Regions from separate parts of the Homo sapiens genome. Here regions 1 and 2 are each linked to region 3. The links are contacts of gene promoters, found by promoter capture Hi-C in blood cells and fetal thymus (Javierre and others, 2016). All regions are on one chromosome and are shown on one strand. The core of a region is centred on a gene start or on the middle of the fragment in contact, and the rest is flanking DNA. Distances in the headings are between cores, read along the strand shown.

Region 1 (2,700 bases), core at 11-2,510, 1.0 Mb before region 3:
GCTCTCTCAAAGCTTTTGCAAGAGTGGGTCTTAAATCCTGGCGGGGGGCACGTGCACTCATTTAAGACTTAAAAAGGAATCGGAAATGACTGTCCCCATGCCCACTGCTGCCCACAAACCTGAAGACCCAAGCGACCACACTTGGTAGGCACTTCTGCCCTTCTGGTCTGGTTCCCACCCGCCCATCCCGAATCGCGGTTATCTTTCCCGGTGCTCACAGCATGCAGACCACAGCCTGTGGCCGCTAGTGTTTCCTTCGCTAGGACCACGGGTAATTGTCTTGGCTTCGCATCTTTTGACTGGCAGGCAGGTGGACAGGGACTTGCCCTACCTCAACCCGGTCCCCAGCTTGGCACGAGCAGATAAATCTTGAAAAAGAAAAATGATCTGGGCCGTTTAACCGTGGCATGGCGGGTCCAGATCCCCAAACCTGTCACTAGTGACGTCCCACGTGGCAGATTCGCTCTCAGGGAAGCCCGTCACCGTTTTTGTCCGGGACATCCTCCCCATGCCCACCCTCCGCTCCGGGAATTCACCCTCGGGGCCGCCCCGCCTCGTTCCCTCCCACAGCCCGGCGGACCCGAGACGGGAAGGGCAGGCACTCCCTGCAGAGTCCCTGGGGCGCCCGTGGCTCGGGGTGCGCGGTGGGACTCGGTGAAGCCGGCGTCTTCACCCCAGAGCCGCGGCTTCGGGGCCGCTGGAGGAGCGAGAGTGGCGCCCGGATGACTGATCGCCGCGGAGAAAGTCCCCCGGGACTGTGACCCCCGCGCCGGGGGGCGGACGCAGGGCGTGGCTGAGGCGCAGGAAGATGCCGCGATGGGACCGGGAAAAAACACCGACCCCAAAACACCCACTGTGTTTCTCAACCTGAGTTCCCCGGCAGCCGCCGAAGGACCCCAAAGGCTGCATGGCGCCCCCCTGGTCCCCACCCCCCCGGGCGTCGCCTCGCGTGGGTGGGCTTCGCGTTCCCTCCGGGGTTTCAGAGCCACCACGTGACTTCCACGAAGCGCGGGGCGCCGGCGGAAAGCCGCGGCAGGGGTGGGATTTGGGACCCCGAGGTGCGGAGAGAGGGCGGGCAGAGGAGGAAACGAGGCGGGGGTGGGAGAAGGAGGGCGGGGCAGACGTGGGACGGGAAGGACGGCTGCCGGGACTGGCGCGCGGGGACACTGGGCCGACGCGTGGAGTAGCGGGGAGAGCGGGAAGCCTGAGGGGGCGGGGCCGGCGCGAGGCCGTGGGTGCGGCACGAGGATGCCGGCGGCGGGACAGCGCCCGTAGGCAGCCCCACGGGCAGGGCGCGCGGGCGGGGCGGGGCGGGCCGGGCCAGAGGAGCGCCCGGCATGTCGCAAGGGCTCCCGGCCGCCGGCAGCGTCCTGCAGAGGAGCGTCGCGGCGCCCGGGAACCAGCCGCAGCCGCAGCCGCAGCAGCAGGTAGAGGGCGAGAGGCTCAGGGAGGGCCGTGGGGTGCGGGGACCGGCGCGCCGCGGGGGGCGAGGAGGTGGGTGCTGGAGTTCCGTGGTGGTGACTGCGGAGGTGCAGAGGTGGCGGGTGCGGCCGGAGACAAGCAGAGGTAGGGGCGTAGGGATGTTGGGGAATGGGGGCGATCCAGGGACCCTGTCGTGCGCACAGTGTCCGCGGCTCCTGGAATGGCTCCTGAGCCAGCTCCTGCGCCCTCTGGGGGAAGAAGCCCGAGGGCGCCGACGCCTGGCTGGGCCGGGCATGGCCGGTGCTCCCCGGCACGTGGGCTCCGCACTGCCCTGAGGGCCGCCCCATCCTGGCGCAGCCAGCGACTGCCACCCCACCACCCGCGCCTGTAGCCCCTCCAGGATTCCCCCGGGTGGGGGGGGTGCTGCCGCGGGAATGGAGAACGCCGGACTAGTCAGCCTGGGCGGAGGGAACCCACAAAGGGCCGACTCCGCCCCCAGCTGGTGGAAACCCTTTGCCCCTTCCCAGTTCGCTGTCCCCTAGCAACGTTTACAGCGGCGCAGTCAGGAAGGAGACCAGGTTGGCCACAGGGACGGCCGTCTGGAAACTTTGCCTGGGTCTTGGCCACCTGCCTTACGACGAAGACTGGGTCTTTTCATCCTTACTCCCCACCTTCCCAATTCAGCGCCCGGCCCATGTCATCAGGTGTCGCTGGAGTGTCACAGAGATCTGAGTTTGGGCCTGGGCTTTGCCACACACAGGCTGAGCAGCCTTGAGCAATTTGTTTAACCTCTCGGACCGTCCATTTCCCCATCTGTAAAATGAATATAGTAACATCAACCTCTCAGGATTTTTGAGACTGAATCAGATATGGTTAATAACATAATACTATCTCTAACTTTCGCTCACCTCTTTCTGTCTTGATTAAATGTTTCTGCTGGGTTGGCAGGTGTGATCATGGTGATGAGTCCAGTTTAGAGTCAGCTCCCCGAGGGCAGTATGCAGGCTGCTTTCTTGTGCTAGTGACTTTTTGATTACAGAGAGCAAAGAGGCATGAGAAGCACTATGCAGAATACATTTTTTTTTAAAGTAGCAACTTCAACAAAGGCAGGTAACTTCTTGAGGGCATACTGTATGCTGGGAGCTTTAGGACAAAATCTCATTTCATCGCATCCCAATCCTAAGCATTAGGCTGTTAGCACCAAGTCTGCAGAGTTCACTGACCCTTTGTTTAGGGCTTGTATCCCCAGTGTCTAGAACAGTGTCTGGCACATGGTAG
Region 2 (2,700 bases), core at 106-2,605, 1.3 Mb before region 3:
ACATACAACAAAACTATGTATTGATTAAGTTGATGAAAATGCGACCAGAGGCTTACAGGATCCTAATCCTGTATTTCCCTTAGGAGTAATGATTCAGTATTTACTAATTCAGTGTTTCCAGCAACTTTACAGAACCTAACTACTGCAAATAACAAGAATCAATTACATACTGAGGGAAAGGTTTTTTTCAAATACACTTTACTTCCTTTTATGCACCAGGGATAAGAAAAGCCTTCCCAAGAAATTACCACTGTTTCAAAGAGCCTATAAAAGCAGTGCTCCTGCCTTCTAGTATCCTTTTCCCCTCTACTCTCCACACTTTATTCTTTCTCGGTTTCTCTCTTCCTGTTTCTTGCAGGGTCTCCACTTAAATAATGTCTTTCAACAATCTACAGTCCTATAATACATTTAATAAAGGTGGACACACAAGACATACAAGTACTTTTTTTTTTTTTTTTTTTTTTTTTGAGACGGAGTCTCGCTCTGTCGCCCAGGCTGGAGTGCAGTGGCTCGATCTCTGCTCACTGCAAGCTCTGCCTCCCAGGTTCACGCCATTCTCCTGCCTCAGGCTCCCGAGTAGCTGGGACCACAGGCGCCCGCCACCACGCCCGGCTAATTCTTTGTATGTTTAGTAGAGACGGGGTTTCACCGTGTTAGCCAGGATGGTCTCGATCTCCTGACCTCGTGATCCGCCCGCCTTGGCCTCCCAGAGTGCTGGGATTACAGGCGTGAGCCACCGCGCCCGGCCCATACACGTACATTTTAAAGTGAGAGCTATGGCTGTGCTTCCGCAACATTAATTGCAAAATTCTGTGGTACCTCAGTTCCATGGGCACCCAGAGGATGCGTTGTTCAGCCTCAGCTGGGAATCTGCACTTTGGGCAATTAAAAATTTTCACTGCTCTGTTTATTTCTGCCGGGCGCGGTAGCTCACTCCTGTAATCCCAGCACTTTGGGAGGCCGAGGCGGGCGAATCACTTGAGGTCAGGAGTTCGAAACCAGCCTGGCCAACATGGTGCAACCCTGTCTCTACTAAAAATTCAAAAATTAGCCGGGTGTGGTGGCTCATGCCTGTAATCCCAGCTACTTGGCAGGCTGAGGCAGGAGAATCGCTTGAACCCGGGAGGTGGAGGTTGCAGTGAGCCGAGATCGTGCCATTGCACTACAGCCTGGGCGACAAGAGCGAAACTCCATCTCAAAAAAAAAAAAAGAAAGAAAGAAAGAAAAAGAAAAAAAAGAAAGTTTATTTCTGTTTCTTTAAGACGAAGTTCGGGTGTTTTGCCCTCTTCAGAAATGGTTGCACGCGCGTCCCACGCTCTGCGCATGCTCCTTGAGCAGAATTCCGGGTTAAGGCATTCAGGGACTCTGACTGCGCAAGATGGAGTGTAGGCCGGCCGGCGAGACTGCACCTCCCAGCATGCCTTGCAGCCAGGACTGGAGTCGGTACTTAAGAGTGATGGGGTTCCCTAGATACTTTAGGCCGTCGCATCGATTATAGAGATTGAGGTGGAACCCGGGGCCTGGGAACTGGACGCACGCGGAGGGCGAAGATGGAAGCCTGGCGCTGTGTGAGGAAGGGCTACGGCCACTGTGTGGTGGGAAGAGGCCGGTCAGTAGGGCTGGGTACTCGGAGGGAGGAGAGAGGGGCGGGCGGCCTGAAAGAGCGGGCGGGCGTCCGGGACTAACCCGGGGCGGGGCGGGGCGGGCTAGGGGTGGAAGGAAGAGGAAGAGGGTCTGGGCGATGGTGCATCCGGGACGAGCCTCCAGAGACCAAGCGGGATAGGTAAACCCGCCGCGCAGCTGGCGGGACGCTGGGCCAACGAGGTCTGGGGTCTTGGCGCGGAGTTCATGGGCCGCCGGCCAGGCTTGTGCCAGTGGCTTTGGATCCCTGGCCTGCTTCCCCCAACCCAGCCTCCAGACCAGCGCTGGCCTGCTCCACACACTCCGCAGCACCGTCCCGGGAACCGAGCGTCGGCGGGGAGGCCGCCTCTCCGCAGTAGGTCTCGGCGGGCCTGATCCCTTGGAGGCGCGTGTGTGGCACACGCCCAGGAGGGGCTTGATTTTTGTTGATGTGTTAGTGTCTTTCAAACTTTAGTCACTTGTATGTCATCCCTTACTGTTATGGCCAAGTTCTTGTTTCACGTGTATTATTTACTGGATATTTTTCTTTAAATTGACTCAGTTTTTTTTAAAAAGCACTTCAGTAGGTGCTGCCCACATTAGCTTCACCCTAAGCAGTGTCTGCAGAGTCTTGGATTTGATGTGCGATTATGTTTTTTCCTAATAAACTAACATAAGTATTTAGAAATTACAATCAAGTAATTTAACTGTGTACTCTGTGAAACCGACTCGTGTACCACCCACCACGCTTGGGAAACACAGCATGTATTATTACATAAGCGATGGGGATTTGGTTGTAACTCCCATAGGCCTGGGACTTGATGGTAATTCAGTTCAACAATGTTTCCTGAGTACCAGCTGTTTGCCAGGCACTGTGCTAGGCACTTGTGAAGATAACGGAATTAAAATGAATAAGACGGTTCTGTTCTGGCCCTGAAGGAGCTTAACATCTTAAGAGAAAAAAAAGTCTGAATAAATAACTGCAAATATAGATAATAGCTTTTGTAGTACAAGTATTATATTTCAATACAGTGGCTTATTAGCATAGAAAATGCATGGACCAAGTGCCCAAATTCCTAT
Region 3 (2,700 bases), core at 106-2,605:
TCCCCTGAGGTAAGACAGTGCCCTTGAATGTTAATTTAAAAATTCTCCTGGTTGGCAATTCCAATTATCTTATGTTATATTCAGGGCATGTAATAAGTCCCTTATTTTTACATAAAGAGCTTTTAAATTCTTATTAATAGAAAATCAGGTGTCTTTTAATCCTTTGCTGAACAGATATTTAAAGAAAACTGGCCTGTTCATGCATTTCCAAATTATTAGCTTTCTGGTAATTTACATATTCCTCTAACAAGCCCTGGATGGAGGCCTCTAAGTCCTCCTTCCCTGGTAAACATGGGGCTGTTCATTTGGCTGGGTAAGCTGAGAACGTTGGTGTGTGGGTGCGTAAAAGAGAATCTGTGTTCAATGAAGTATTGTCGATAGGGTTAATTGTGTATTTGGCACACATAAACGGGACAAGACGTGTAAAGTACTTGGTAGGAGAGCGACAGTATTTCTCCTTTTTTTTTTTTTTTTGGAGACTGGGTGTCACTCTGTCGCCCAGGCTGGAGTGCAGTGGCGCACGGCTCACTGTAACCTCTGCCTCCCAGGTTCAAGCAATTCCTCATGCCTCAGCCTCCCAAGAAGCTGGGATTACAGGCCTGCAACCCCATGCTCTGTTACTTTTTTTTTTTTTTTTTTCATTTTTAGTAGAGACGGGGTTTCGCCATGTTGGCCAGGCTGGTCTTGAACTCTTGGCCTCGAGCAATCCGCCCGCCTCGGCCTCCCAAAGTGCTAGGATTATAGGCGTGAGCCACAGCGCCCGGCCTAATTTTCGTATTTTCAGTAGAGACGAGGTTTGCCCTGTTGCCCAGGCTGGTCTGAACTCCTGGGCTCAAGCGACCCACCCACCTCGGCTTCCCAAAGTGCTAGGGTTACGGGCGAGCGTGAGTCACCGCGCCCACCCGGGAGTCTGTATTTCTAATTTGTATTCAGCTCTCAGCATATCCTCAACGTGACCCCACCCAGGTTCAGGGTACTGGAACCTGAGCGAGGAATGCGTGTGCCGGGGAGAGTAGGTAGTGTGAGGGGCCAGAGTGCAAAGGTCAGAAGGCATCTGGTGGAAGCGGTGTGCAAAGAAGCCTGAGGGGAGGACCTTAGATCTCGGTTACCTTGGCGATCTCTATCAGAGGGTTAGAGTTGCCGAGAGGCGCCAGCTGCCGCTTCCTCTCTCCCGCCCTCCGTTTGGCTTAGCTCGCCGGGTTCTCCCACAGGTTAAAAGCAGACGCCGACGCGGTTGCCTAGTGACACTTTTCCCAAAATGCCTAGGGTATTGTTGTGTTCTTCTTAGCCAATGAGAGAGGCGAAGCGGCCCACCGCCTGCCAATAGACTGCGAGATCAGGGCCCGCGACGGTTAAACGGGGCCCAAGGCAGGGGTGGCGGGTCAGTGCTGCTCGGGGGCTTCTCCATCCAGGTCCCTGGAGTTCCTGGTCCCTGGAGCTCCGCACTTGGCGGCGCAACCTGCGTGAGGCAGCGCGACTCTGGCGACTGGCCGGCCATGCCTTCCCGGGCTGAGGACTATGAAGTGTTGTACACCATTGGCACAGGCTCCTACGGCCGCTGCCAGAAGATCCGGAGGAAGAGTGATGGCAAGGTGAGCGTGGGACCTACCCTGCGCCTGCCCCTGCTTAGGTTTCGTCGCCTCGGGGCGAGCGCCCTGCGCCACCGAAGGGAACCGACAGGGCTGAGGAAATGGGTGCCCGGAAGACTAAACCGTCTTTCCTGGGTCTGCATCTGACAGCCTGTCCTGGGTGGCTTAAAGGATGGGAGACCGCTTCTTTTGATATATGTATTTCCATCTTTTCCCGTTTCTCTCCCCATTTCTCTCTTTCTCCTGCTTTGGCTTGCTAAGGACCTTCCATTGGTGACAGGTAACTAATTCCTGAGCTGTTTTTAGAGCTCTAAGAGTGGCCCTCTCAGGCACAAGAAAGGGGCAGGACTACCAGAACCCGAAGCTTTGTATCTGCAGTCAGACTCCCTCAAAATATCCATTATTAGGATTATTGGATTCATATTTCCCAATGTATATAGGTAGAACTTTTACAGAAAGTAACATTGGACAGGAAACTGCCTGGCTGCTGATGGAGGGATCTTTACCAAGGTGTCTCATCCTGGGAAAACACGACTGGGGTGGAATGGGGCAGGGACTTTGACCACCTTCACCCCAATTTTGACTATAGTACCTTTTAGCCAACTTCCCACTAACCAACTGAGGGTAGGGGTTGGGGGAGTCCTCATGTGCCTCATTCCCGTTTGTCTCCCCACAACATACATTTACTGCTTAGAACTGGAGGAAGATTATGGAAGTAAACTCACAGCTCCTTAAGTTCATTGAACTAAATTAGATAATGACCTTGATTGTAGGATATAATTAAAAGGGAGGTAATTTGTTAAATCTTGGAACTTTCATTCTTTGTTTTTGAGCATAATGAGTTCATTCATACCTTGGAAATTCTTATTTCAGATATTAGTTTGGAAAGAACTTGACTATGGCTCCATGACAGAAGCTGAGAAACAGATGCTTGTTTCTGAAGTGAATTTGCTTCGTGAACTGAAACATCCAAACATCGTTCGTTACTATGATCGGATTATTGACCGGACCAATACAACACTGTACATTGTAATGGAATATTGTGAAGGAGGGGATCTGGCTAGTGTAATTACAAAGGGAACCAAGGAAAGGTAAGCATAATCTTTTAAAA

What was found. The method cuts DNA at HindIII sites, captures the fragments that hold promoters and counts their contacts. A CHiCAGO score of 5 or more calls a contact.
Region 1: a contact is called between the fragment with the promoter of BATF3 here and the fragment with the promoter of NEK2 in region 3, in 1 of 17 cell types (endothelial precursors). The highest score is 5.7, in endothelial precursors.
Region 2: the fragment with the promoter of ANGEL2 here is called in contact with the fragment with the promoter of NEK2 in region 3 in 3 of 17 cell types (fetal thymus, naive CD4 T cells and naive CD8 T cells); the score reaches 12.7 in fetal thymus.

The regions. Positions count from the first base shown.
Region 1 is chr1:212,698,400-212,701,099 of GRCh38, reverse strand. It overlaps BATF3 (basic leucine zipper ATF-like transcription factor 3), which reads left to right and starts at 1,260. Exons shown (of 3, transcript NM_018664.3): 1 at 1,260-1,427. The coding sequence starts at 1,338. RefSeq lists silencers at 1,243-1,322, 1,513-1,962. The HindIII fragment of the contact is 2,939 bases long and covers 15-2,700 here.
Region 2 is chr1:213,014,522-213,017,221 of GRCh38, reverse strand. It overlaps ANGEL2 (angel homolog 2), which reads left to right and starts at 1,355. Exons shown (of 9, transcript NM_144567.5): 1 at 1,355-1,609. The coding sequence starts at 1,551. RefSeq lists enhancers at 1,320-1,629, 1,342-1,929, 1,930-2,518. The HindIII fragment of the contact is 5,816 bases long and covers 1-2,700 here.
Region 3 is chr1:211,674,276-211,676,975 of GRCh38, reverse strand. It overlaps NEK2 (NIMA related kinase 2), which reads left to right and starts at 1,355. Exons shown (of 8, transcript NM_002497.4): 1 at 1,355-1,592; 2 at 2,463-2,680. The coding sequence starts at 1,497. NEK2-DT (NEK2 divergent transcript) reads right to left here and starts at 1,214. Exons shown (of 4, transcript NR_148994.1): 1 at 1,110-1,214. RefSeq lists enhancers at 1,075-1,369, 1,392-1,651. The HindIII fragment of the contact is 3,147 bases long and covers 1-1,955 here.